Linked DNA regions of Homo sapiens: all the other regions are linked to region 1. The links are contacts of gene promoters, found by promoter capture Hi-C in human tissues and cell types (Jung and others, 2019). All regions are on one chromosome and are shown on one strand. The core of a region is centred on a gene start or on the middle of the fragment in contact, and the rest is flanking DNA. Distances in the headings are between cores, read along the strand shown.

Region 1 (3,519 bases), core at 1,020-3,519:
GGGAGCATGCAACTGCTCTGTAAATGAGAAAATGTATTCAAAGCACCAGGAATACCTGTGGGACCCAGTGCCTTTTAATGGACCTGGCCATCCCACAGTACACAACCAGAAATATGAACTTGTAACACAGTTCAGCTTCAGAATATATCTGCAGTCTCCAGTATTTGTCCAGACTTCCTCCAGTTTACTGTTCTGACCTGCTGTTCTTTCTTACCTGGCTGTCAGATCCACTGGGACATCTAGGAAAAAATCTGCCACCCCCTTCCCCCAAGAAAAGGTCTTGCCCTCCAGCCTCCTCCCACTATGTACAGACATAGAAAGTAGGGACAAGCCGGGCATGGTGGCTCACGCTTGTAATCCCACCTACCTGGGAGGCTGAGACACAAGATCTCGAGCCTGGGAGGCGGAGGTTGCAATGAGCCCAGATCGCACCACTGCACTCCAGAGCAAGACTCTCAAAGAAAAAAAAGAAAGAAAAAGAAAAAAGGGGCCGGGCGCAGTGGCTCACGCCTGTAATTCCAGCACTTTGGGAGGCCGAGGCGGGCAGATCAAGAGGTCAAGAGATCAAGACCATTCTGGCCAACATGGTGAAACCCCGTCTCTACTAAAAGTACAAAAATTAGCTGGGCGGCCGGGCGCCGGTGGCTCATGCCTGTAATCCCAGCACTTTGGAAGGCCGAGGCGGGTGGATCACGAGGTCAGGAGATCGAGACCATCCTGGCTAACACGGTGAAACGCCGTCTCTACTAAAAATACAAAAAATTCTCCTTGAGTGGTAGCGGGCGCTTGTAGTCCCAGCTACTCCGGAGGCTGAGGCAGGAGAATGGCTTGAGCCCGGGAGGCGGAGCTTGCAGCGAGCCGAGATCGCACCACTGCACTCCAGCCTGGGTGACAGAGCGAGACTCCGTCTCAAAAAAAAAAAAAATTAAATTAAATTAAATTAAAAATTAGCTGGGCGTGGTGGCGCTCGCCTGTAGTCTCAGCTACTCGGGAGGCTGAGGCAGGAGAACTGCTTGAACCTGGGAGGCAGAGGTTGCAGTGAGCCGAGATTGCGCCACTGCACTACAGCCTGGGCAACAGAGCGAGACTCTGTCTCAAAAAAAAATAAAAATAAAAATAAAAAAAAAAAAGATAAAAAGGAACAGCCCCTGGTCCAAAATCCCAGATAAGGTAGAATCATTTTTTTTTTTTTTTTGAAACACCAAGTGCGAGTCAGCCTGGGTTTTTAGACCTAAATCTAAAAATGTATTGAACACCTGTATGATTTCATAAATATTGCCCTGATTGACGAGGCACCCCAAAGAAAGGCAGAACTGGATTCAACATGGAAAGAAAGTATCCCAAGAAGCCAGCCATGAGAGTGACAGTCCCATCTGTGCTACAAGAGTAAGGCTACTGAGGTTGAGATGCAAGAGCTTTGTGCTGGGGGGCCACAAGACAGAGCAGATCCGGAATCCAGGCAACCTTCACTTCCAGCCTGAAGACTCTCCTACGAACTATGATAGTAAATGATGGAGAGGCCCTAGGGTTTGGGATCAAACAATTCTGGTTTGAGCACGCACCCCGCCCCACAATCCTTCCTTCTGCCATTTTACTTAATCTTGCTGAACCTGTTTTCCTCAGCCAAAAAAAAAAAAAGCTCGCATAGTGGCTGAACTAATTATGTGAAATATGTGAAATGTGCTTTGCAGCAGGTGGCTTTTAAACTATTGACCAGAAAACACATACACTGAAAAAAAAAATTTTTTTTACATTATAAGCCAGTATACACATATAAGTATATACAATTGAAACAAGAGTTTCACAAAAACTGTACTTACCTTACTACCTGGGAGTCACTTGGTATATTACTATTGTATTTAATTTTTTATATGCTGATTGCAACTCACTACATTGTTTTCACTCCTAATGGGTAGTTTTTTAAAAACACTTTTCAAAACCATGCAATTATCAGTTATTACGAAGATTAGTAAGATTCTCAGGAATGGTCTGATGGCTAGGAATCTTCATTGCCAGGGAAACAAAGGAAAAAGGTCAAGGTTATTAGGTCAAGCCCTTGGGAGCCCTGTTGCCAAGGGAACAGATCGACCCCCGTCAGGGTTGGTTTACCCACGGTCTGCAGCCCTGTGGAGAAAAGGAGTGGCCCGTGGGCCTGTCACTCACATCAGAGTTGGGAAGCCCGCCTCCAAGCCCGGAAGACCCGCCTCCTCTGTAAGGTTAAAGGAGGAAGAGGCAGAGATTGGAGGTTCAGGCAGTGACGTAACTTGCTGCCTTAGGTGGCCTTCCGCTCTGGCGGCTGTCGCGACGGGGGTTCAGGGAATATTTACTGGGCCTCTCCGCTCCCTCTGCTCTTGGAGGTGCCATGAGGTCAGTTAGCTACGTGCAGCGCGTGGCGCTGGAGTTCAGCGGGAGCCTCTTCCCGCACGCAATCTGCCTCGGAGACGTTGATAACGATACGGTAGGTGCATGCGCACCGCAAGAGACAGCCTGGATCTGTGCAGGGACGGGGCAAGGGAAGTGGAAGAGGCCGCCCGAGCGTGCCACGTGAGCGTGAGCATGCGCGCTGTGGCTAGTTTGGAGCGCTAGAGAGAAAAACTTTATTGATAGCTTCAGTGTTCGTGGTTGGTTTTGTTCCTTGGGAGGTTTTGTTTGTTTTTTGAGACAGGCTCCGTCTGTCACCCAGGCTGGAGTGCAGTGGCTTGATTTCGGCTCACCGCAACCTCTGCCTCCCGGGCTCGAGCGATTCTCCTACCTCAGCCTCCCAAGGGGCTGGGATTACAGGCGCCCGCCACCACGCCCGACTAATTTTTGTGTTTTTAGTAGAGGTGGGGTTTCACCATGTTGGCCCAAAGTGCTGGGACTACAGGCCTGAGCCATCGTGCCCAGCCCTTCTCGTTTTTTAAATAAATTACCACAGGTCAAGCAGGTAAAACAATGCCTGGCACACAGTTTAGTGCTCACTTAAGTGTTAGTGGTGGTGGTGGTGGTGTTAGTATTTTATTCTGTTTTTCTGCAAATCTTTACTGAACTGCTCATTATGCACCAAGGACTCTGCTACATTCTAGGAATTCAAAAATGAACGAGAGAGTTCCAGTCCTCAGATAGCTCATAATCAAGCTGTGTAATAGTCACCGGATAATAAAATGTAATGAGATGCATTGACTAAAGTATGGAGAGGATTCTCCGGTGGAGCATTAAAGGGAATAGTGTCTGATGCTCTTTTTTTTGCAGACTTTATCTTTTCATTTATCATCTATTTCATAGTTCTAATGCAAAGCACTGTATTGCCCCCTTCTACCCTCTGCCCTATCTTCCTACTCGGCCTCCCTGCTTCACAGTTCCTTAACTGTCCTGTACTTATTTCCCACCGCCCCCTAGTGCTGTGATGCAGAAGGTATCTTATGAGGCCTTTTTTGGCTCTACCCTCTCTGGGGAGGAAAGAGTTATTCTCATAAATTTGTGTTATGTTTTCTGGGCTTTCGTGTTTCTTCATGAACTGCCAAGCAGTCCAATTTTATG
Region 2 (3,519 bases), core at 697-3,196, 810 kb before region 1:
AGAAGGTAGAGAGCCAGTGTCACCTGATGGTGTTCTTGATAAGCAGTAAGAATTATTAATTTCATTGAAGCTTAATCCTTGGGTACAATTCTTTTTAACATTCTGCATGAAAAAATAGGAAATAGGCATAAAGCACGTCTGCTGCAAAATGAAGTGTGTCATATTTGTCTCTAGGAAAATACTTCTGTGCTTGAGTTGTAGGCCGAATTCATGTTTTTATTTTTATTTTCATAAAACATTTTTACTTGAAAGAAAGATGGGCAAACTATGATTATTCAAACAGGTACTTGACAGACATTTTTCTGAAAATAAATAAAGTGTGCCTGTCACTTTCAGGAAAACAAGGGACAATTACTGCTGCCAATGATAATTTTTAAGCCTTCAAGCCAGAATTAAAAGTTTAGAAAATGTGTATCTACTGCCATGAGCTTGACATCTCAGTACTTAATGTTTTTTTTTCTGATGAGATCAGTGATGATATTAATGAGCGCAATTTTAACAAATCTTGTATAATGGAAAGTGTCAATATCTCAAAGATCTGCTTAACTCAGTGGTCCAGTATTTTCCAAAAGACCAATGTCTCATGCTACATAATCATGCACAGGCAAAAGATCCATTCAAGGACAAGGTGGACTAATGGATTTTTAATGTAACAGTATGAAAAGTTAATAGGATTTCAGATAGTACATTGCAGCTAAGCTTTGAGAAACTCCAGCTTGTCAAGTTTTGGTATATTATCCAAGAAGAATATCCACAATTGTCTGAAAAACTCTATTAAAATATCCATCTCTTTTCCAACTACATTATCTACATATGAGGCCAGAGTTTCTTCATATACTCCAAACAAAACACACATAGCCCGGGGTCTTTAAAGTTATTTTTAATTTCCAATATGGTAAATATAGGTGGGTATAACTCACATAAACAAAAGTTCTCTGAGGGAGTCCTTAATAATTTTTAAGAGTGGGCCAGGTGCGGTGGCTCCTGCCTGTAATCCCAGCACTTTGGGAGGCTGAGGCGGGCGGATCACAAGGTCAGTAGTTCAAGACCAGCCTGGCCAACATGGTGAAACCCCGTCTCTACTAAAAATACAAAAATTAGCCAGGAGTGGTGGCAGGTACCTGTAATCCCGGATACTCGGGAGGCTGAGGCAGGAGAATCGCTTGAACCCGGGAGGCAGAGGTTGCAGTGAGCCGAGATCCTGCCACTGCACTCCAGCCTGGGTGATAGAGCGAGACTCCATCTCAAAAATAAAATAAATAAAAAGTAATTAAAAAAATAATTTTTAAGAGTGTAAAGGAGTCTTGAGACTAAAAAGTTGAGAATGGTTGATCTAAACCATTTATCTAGCATTAAATATTAGAACAACTGTGCAGACATTACTACTCACATTCATAAATTCTTACCTATTTGATATAGAAATATCATAGATACGGCACACATACCCTCTCATAATAATATGTTGCAATATAATCTTTGCAGTCACAATTTCAATTGTACTGAAATTCTTGGTTAAGCTGCATTTTGGAGTCTCAGTCCTATTGACTCCCAAGCCTAACTTCCCAGTGGGGAAGAATACAGCAATGGCTTTCAAACAACTTTTTTTTGACTGAGGCTGGGGTCATTTGCAGTCTGACTGAGAACATATGTTTATATATTTATACCTGATATTAACTAGAATAAATGTTTCAATACTAAGTATACAGACATTTTTTAAAATGCTATTTGTGACTTTGTAAATTGGTTTCATGACCAACTAATGGATTGTGACCTGTAGTTTGAAAAACATAGGGCTGCAGCAACTGAGCAACCACACAAAGCTGACTAGACAACTTTCCATGTTAGTTCACTACCTTTTTCCAGTGTTACTGACCTCTTTGCTCTTAATCACATATGTGCTTCTAAAAACAAGTTTAATCTGTAATATGGGCAATGGAGAATTTTGTGATTAATTCTTGAACTAGTCACACTCTCTCACTTGATTAGCTGTTCTAATTTTGATTTTTCAGCATGAACCCACAGATTCTACTTTGCATTTCCCTCGTACATATAATGAGGCATTGTTTTTCTTTTGTCTGTTAAGTTCCATGATCCTTACACAGATCATTGTCCTCATAATTTTTCAGTCTTTCCATCTTTAAAGTGTAAAGAATAGATCATGGCCTCCAAAGAACGAATTGCTTTGAGCTCATTAGAGAAGACAGGCAATATAGGGGCCATTGTAAAAGCTTAAATGTTCATAAAACAAAAGTGTATACAAGTCTTAGTGATCTGTATGACTACAATTGCAAAGCATTTATGGAGTGCTCACTTGATGAAATTCATTAATTCTTCATGATTTATTATTGCTTCTTGTGTCTGTGCTGAAATTACATGGTCATGTCTTCTCCAGTCTTTGATCTCACTGATGAGTAAGATGAAGATACCCTTACTTTGCTTACGGGGAAAATTTCACATATGTGAACAACATGCTAATATGACCCTTAGTAGAGAAGAGTTAATTTTTTGTGTGTTTAGAGTTAATGAAACAACCCATCTTCTGTTCTAACCTCCTTGTATCTGAACTCTTTTCTCCCAAGTATCTTACACATTCCTATCTCTGTACCTTTGCCCATCTGTCTTCTTAGCTTGGAATGACCTTTTCCTGGAAAACTCACCTCCTGTCTTCTCCCATACAATCCTTTCAGCCTATGAATCCTCATTGCATTCTGTTGCGATTTTTCTTGTGGCACTTAGCTCACTTTATCCTGACTTAGACTTATTTATTTACTACGTTACATATACATTTTTTTCCAATTCTAAAAAAAAACAGTCATTGTAATAAAAGAGAATTGTTATAGAAAATCTAGCCTGAAAACATTATTGCAATTGAACAAGAAATTGGGCTTTGAGTTTCTTGACAGATAAGCAAAAAGGAGGAAATAGTATGTTTCATAAAGTTTTACTTATTTATTTATTTATTTATTTATTTTTTGAGACAGGGTCTTTCTCTGTCGCTCAGGCTGGAGTGCAGTGGCACAATCACAGCTCACTGCAGACTTGACCTCCTGGGTTCAAGCACTCCTCCCACCCCAGCCTCCCAGGTAGCTGGGACCACAGGCTGGTGCCACCATGCCCGGCCAATGTTTTTTATATTTTGTAGTGATGGGGTCTCACTACGTTGCTCAGGATGGAGATGTTATTTTTCATGTTTTGTAGTGATGGGGTCTCACTATGTTGCTCAGGATGGAGATGTTACTTTTTATGTTTTGTAGTGATGGGGTCTCACTACGTTGCTCAGGATGGAGATGTTATTTTTTATGTGCTTATCACCACGTAGTCTCCCTAGCACTTGGTCCAATGCCTTGTACATAATAGAGATTCAATAAATGCTTATTCTTTTGAACTAAACCCTGAGTTAGTTGAATTTACTCATTAAATGTCAGCATTTTTTAAAGAGCTCATGATTTATAAAATAATGAAATCCAAGTTGGGATAAAAAAACGTGCAATAGCAAGTCCTGTTCTCTCAGATTTTATA
Region 3 (3,519 bases), core at 714-3,213, 780 kb before region 1:
GTGCCCAGGTGTTTGTGAGGGCATGAAGAAGGAAGGGACTTCAAGGGCTGGGCGATTTGGCCCCACCATGATACCTGGGTGTTGCACAGAGCCCACATGGCAGTGGAGAGGCTATCTCTTATCAGCACCTTTGCTGTCAGCTTCTTGTCACAACCTCAAGCCTGACAGGGGAACCACACTGATAGGTGGGCCCTCTGGGTCTTGGCAACAATGTCATAACGCGGATTACCAGAGCAATATGTCACAGTGTCATTTTGCAATGTTGAGGTGTTCCATTTGTTAATGAGGTGAATTTCTTGTCTATAAACATGAACATCTGAACTGTAGAGGAGAGATTAAAAAAATAAAATCACCATATTAATCAGGCCCAATAATTCCTTTTTTAAGCTTGGATCCAATGCTGAGGAATCTCTGGCATCCTTCCTTGGAATCAATTACAGTCAATTTCTTCACATTTTACATCAGTTAAAGGAACATTGTCAAGATAAAATCTTGCCCAACATAGTTTTTTTTTTTGTTTTAATTTCCTTACTCTCATAAACCAAGACCTTCTTAGGTTACTTTGCCAATAATGAATTTTTAGAGCCAAATCCCTGGTTTGTCTTTATTTGGGCTGTGCTGAGGAAGTAGCATCTTCCTTCCCCTTGGTTCACATGTTGCAGTGGGCTGCTCCACGGCTCTCAGATGTGCCCTTGGGGCTGCATTTTGTCCACACAGGGGCCTGTGTTCTAGTTCCTTAGGTGCGTGTGAAGTTGTGTCTGCCTTGCTGATGGGGTTATTTGTGCTAATCTTTCTGGAGCCCGGGCACAGGCCACAGCAGGGCAGAGATGCCTGGAAGGGGTCAGGACTGGGTGCCAGCATCCTCTTGGGCCGTAAAGTTAGGCAGGCATGAGGCCACATTCCACAGGCCTGAAGGAGCAGGGAGCTTGGGCTCAGGGAACTTAGTTGAGGCAGAAAGGCTCAAAAGTCACCTGAGGTGAGGCAGGTGGAAGCTGGAGACCCAGCAACAAGTTGGGAACATTACCCATGAGTTTAGTTCATAAGACAGAGGCAAGCTTTGTCCTGACATCTTTGCCTTCTCCTTTGTCCTATGTTAGGCAAGAACTCACAGGTGTGTGCTGCTAGAAGGCAAGACAGGTCTCTACAGGTTCAACTTACCCATAATTAAGGATGGACAGCAGCCTAGACCTCTCAGTGGTTTCCTAATGTGAGTTGCTGACAATAGATTTTGTTCTTTTGTAGTAAAGGCACCCAGAGACTTGCTGCCTAAGTGCCCATGGGCATCCTTGGTTCTTGCCTACCAGGCAGACCCTCTCCTCCTCATCCGAATTGGAGGGTCCAATCACTCTCTTGGGGGTCCAACCTGGATTTTGTCTTTCTCAGCATTGTGGTCTCAGTACGGAGAAACCAAAACTCGTGGCACTCAAGAGCTTGTTCACTCTTCTCTTCTCCAAACCCTCTGGTGTCCAAGTGAGTTTGGACTAAGTGGGAGGCCAGATTCATTGGCACACAAGTGGCAGCACGGTGAATGGGGGGCTGTGCTGTGTTCTTCAGGCTCAACCTTCCAGAAGACAATGCGTGCCTGTCTCCTCTGCTGCATTCCTTGTCCCATGTCTTTTGTTTGAACAAAAGAGGATTGGATAATGAGTTTCTTTTTTATTTCCATCCTTATTTTCTATGGACATGAAGCTTGAAAGCCAGTCTCCTTGGGTCTCTATCTCTCTACCTATCCTACTACCCCTTACCTTAGAGTAAAGGTTCTGAATGTAAAATAAAGTTATTGGGGAGATTTTAAAATTCTGATGCCCAGGCTGTATCCCAAATCAAATTCATGGTTGGATTTTACTATACAGTAAGGAATGCTTTGATACCATTTTGAATGTAGATGGCTCAGTGGCTTTCTTTGGCTTTCTCCAAGTCCTGCTCAATCCTCCTGAGATGCCCCGAGAATACTGGCCTCCTGAGCAACAGTGGCAGGATCTCAGGAGAGAGAGGGCAGCTGTGGGCTGTGTCTTTTCATGAGTATGCAATAGTCACCTTTGTTTATTATTTCCCCACCCTGGAGACAAATGTGTTGCTCTTTCTGTGTGAGTGTGTGTGTGAGTGTGTTTGTGTGTGTGTGTGTGTGTGTCTGTGTGTATGTGTTTGGAAGGGGTAAGAGCAGTGTAACCACAGCTCCCATCCCCATGCTGCAAGGTAGAGGGAGGAGGGGTGGCTCACACGTGAGTGGGAGCACGGCTTGCGGCAGTCTCGGTAACCGGAGGGGGCGGGCATGCTCTAAGGGAGCAACTTGGAGGAGTTCCTGTGGTCCCAAACACCCATCCATCTCTGCTTGAGTTCCTTCCCAGTTTTAGGTGTCATATGAGTGCTTATATCAGTATAACTCACATCAGCCTTAGTGCCATGGACAGTCCCTAAAGTGAACATCAATTTCTCTGTCACCTGCCGTATTTTGGGTGTACCCTAGGGGCACTTAGCACACCCGGCCAGGAGGCTCAAGCCCATGCCTGTGGATGGCACACATAGAGAATGGACTCTGTTGCTCTTGAAAAGGATTGTTAAAAAATCAAGTTAGCATCTTGTTTGTCAACGTTAAGACAGTTGATGTTTCAGAATAATTGACAAGCATGGAAATCCACTGGAAACAGGAATGTTATTAGGGCCACTGTGTTTGTGAGTGTTCGGATGTGAATTAAACCAATCCATTACACTTGTTTGATGTTCATTGGGGCTGCAATATTTTTATGCAGAACCCGTGAAAGGAGACACAGTTCAGTGGTGTTTATGAGTGACCTTGTCTTGTCCTCTGAATTATGGACAGGCAGCTCAGAACATCAGCAGCTGGAGCTAACAACTGTGCTGTGTTTTCTTCATATTCCGTATTCCTGAGATGCTGCTGCCATCTCGGGCTTAGATTTTGCAGTAGAGAACATGAATGCGGCTTTTCAAATCAGAAATATTTATAGAACGAGGTCCTGATTTAACAACGCTGAAGCGCTGGTCCTGGAAATAATAACACAAGTCAGGAAAGAGAACCTCTCTCCCTATAAAACATCCCTCCAGTGCTTGCTTTCGAGGGGACTTCTTTGTGAAAAATTAATGTTTCCCAGTTTGATCAGAAGGGTTTTAAACTGAAGGTAGGGGGTGGTGGAGTAAAATGCCAGGTGAGCCTATGACACTGACAGGCAGTGCCTGGTTAGGTGCAGTGATGTAGCTAACCCACCCTGGGGGAGTTCCGCTGGCCATTCCACTTCCAGAGGGGAGGTGCTTGATTCTCCATTCCTTGACGTACAAGGAACCCTGAGGAAGGTGTGGACAGGATGTCCCAGAACAAGTGAAGCCAGTCTCTGTGTCCAGCTGGGTCCTCTTTCTGGCCCTGACACAGATGCCCCCATGATGCCCGCCCTCTGCAGGCTCAAGTCCGCCCATGTGCTCGGCCACCACCTGGCCTGCAAGTCTATCCTGGGATGCTGAGGGGGCAGCTCTGGCATCCGACACCCTGGAACCCAGGACATGGAT

What was found. Contacts are between HindIII fragments. The study calls those that stand out against the background at their distance.
Region 2: a fragment that was not itself captured here is called in contact with the fragment with the promoter of ITFG2 in region 1 in 1 of the 25 tissues and cell types used here (hippocampus).
Region 3: a contact is called between a fragment that was not itself captured here and the fragment with the promoter of ITFG2 in region 1, in 1 of the 25 tissues and cell types used here (stomach).

What each region holds. Positions count from the first base shown.
Region 1 is chr12:2,810,399-2,813,917 of GRCh38, forward strand. ITFG2 (integrin alpha FG-GAP repeat containing 2) reads left to right here and starts at 2,270. Exons shown (of 12, transcript NM_018463.4): 1 at 2,270-2,458. The coding sequence starts at 2,363. ITFG2-AS1 (ITFG2 antisense RNA 1) reads right to left here and starts at 2,526. Exons shown (of 4, transcript NR_146317.1): 1 at 2,164-2,526. RefSeq lists enhancers at 1,817-2,566, 2,297-2,546 and a silencer at 2,097-2,186. The HindIII fragment of the contact is 16,489 bases long and covers 1-3,519 here.
Region 2 is chr12:2,005,162-2,008,680 of GRCh38, forward strand. It overlaps a transcript of CACNA1C not described here. Among named protein-coding and RNA genes, the nearest start is that of DCP1B, 2.5 kb to the left of the region's middle. The HindIII fragment of the contact is 3,124 bases long and covers 385-3,508 here.
Region 3 is chr12:2,029,884-2,033,402 of GRCh38, forward strand. It overlaps a transcript of CACNA1C not described here. Among named protein-coding and RNA genes, the nearest start is that of CACNA1C-IT1, 15 kb to the left of the region's middle. The HindIII fragment of the contact is 5,670 bases long and covers 1-3,519 here.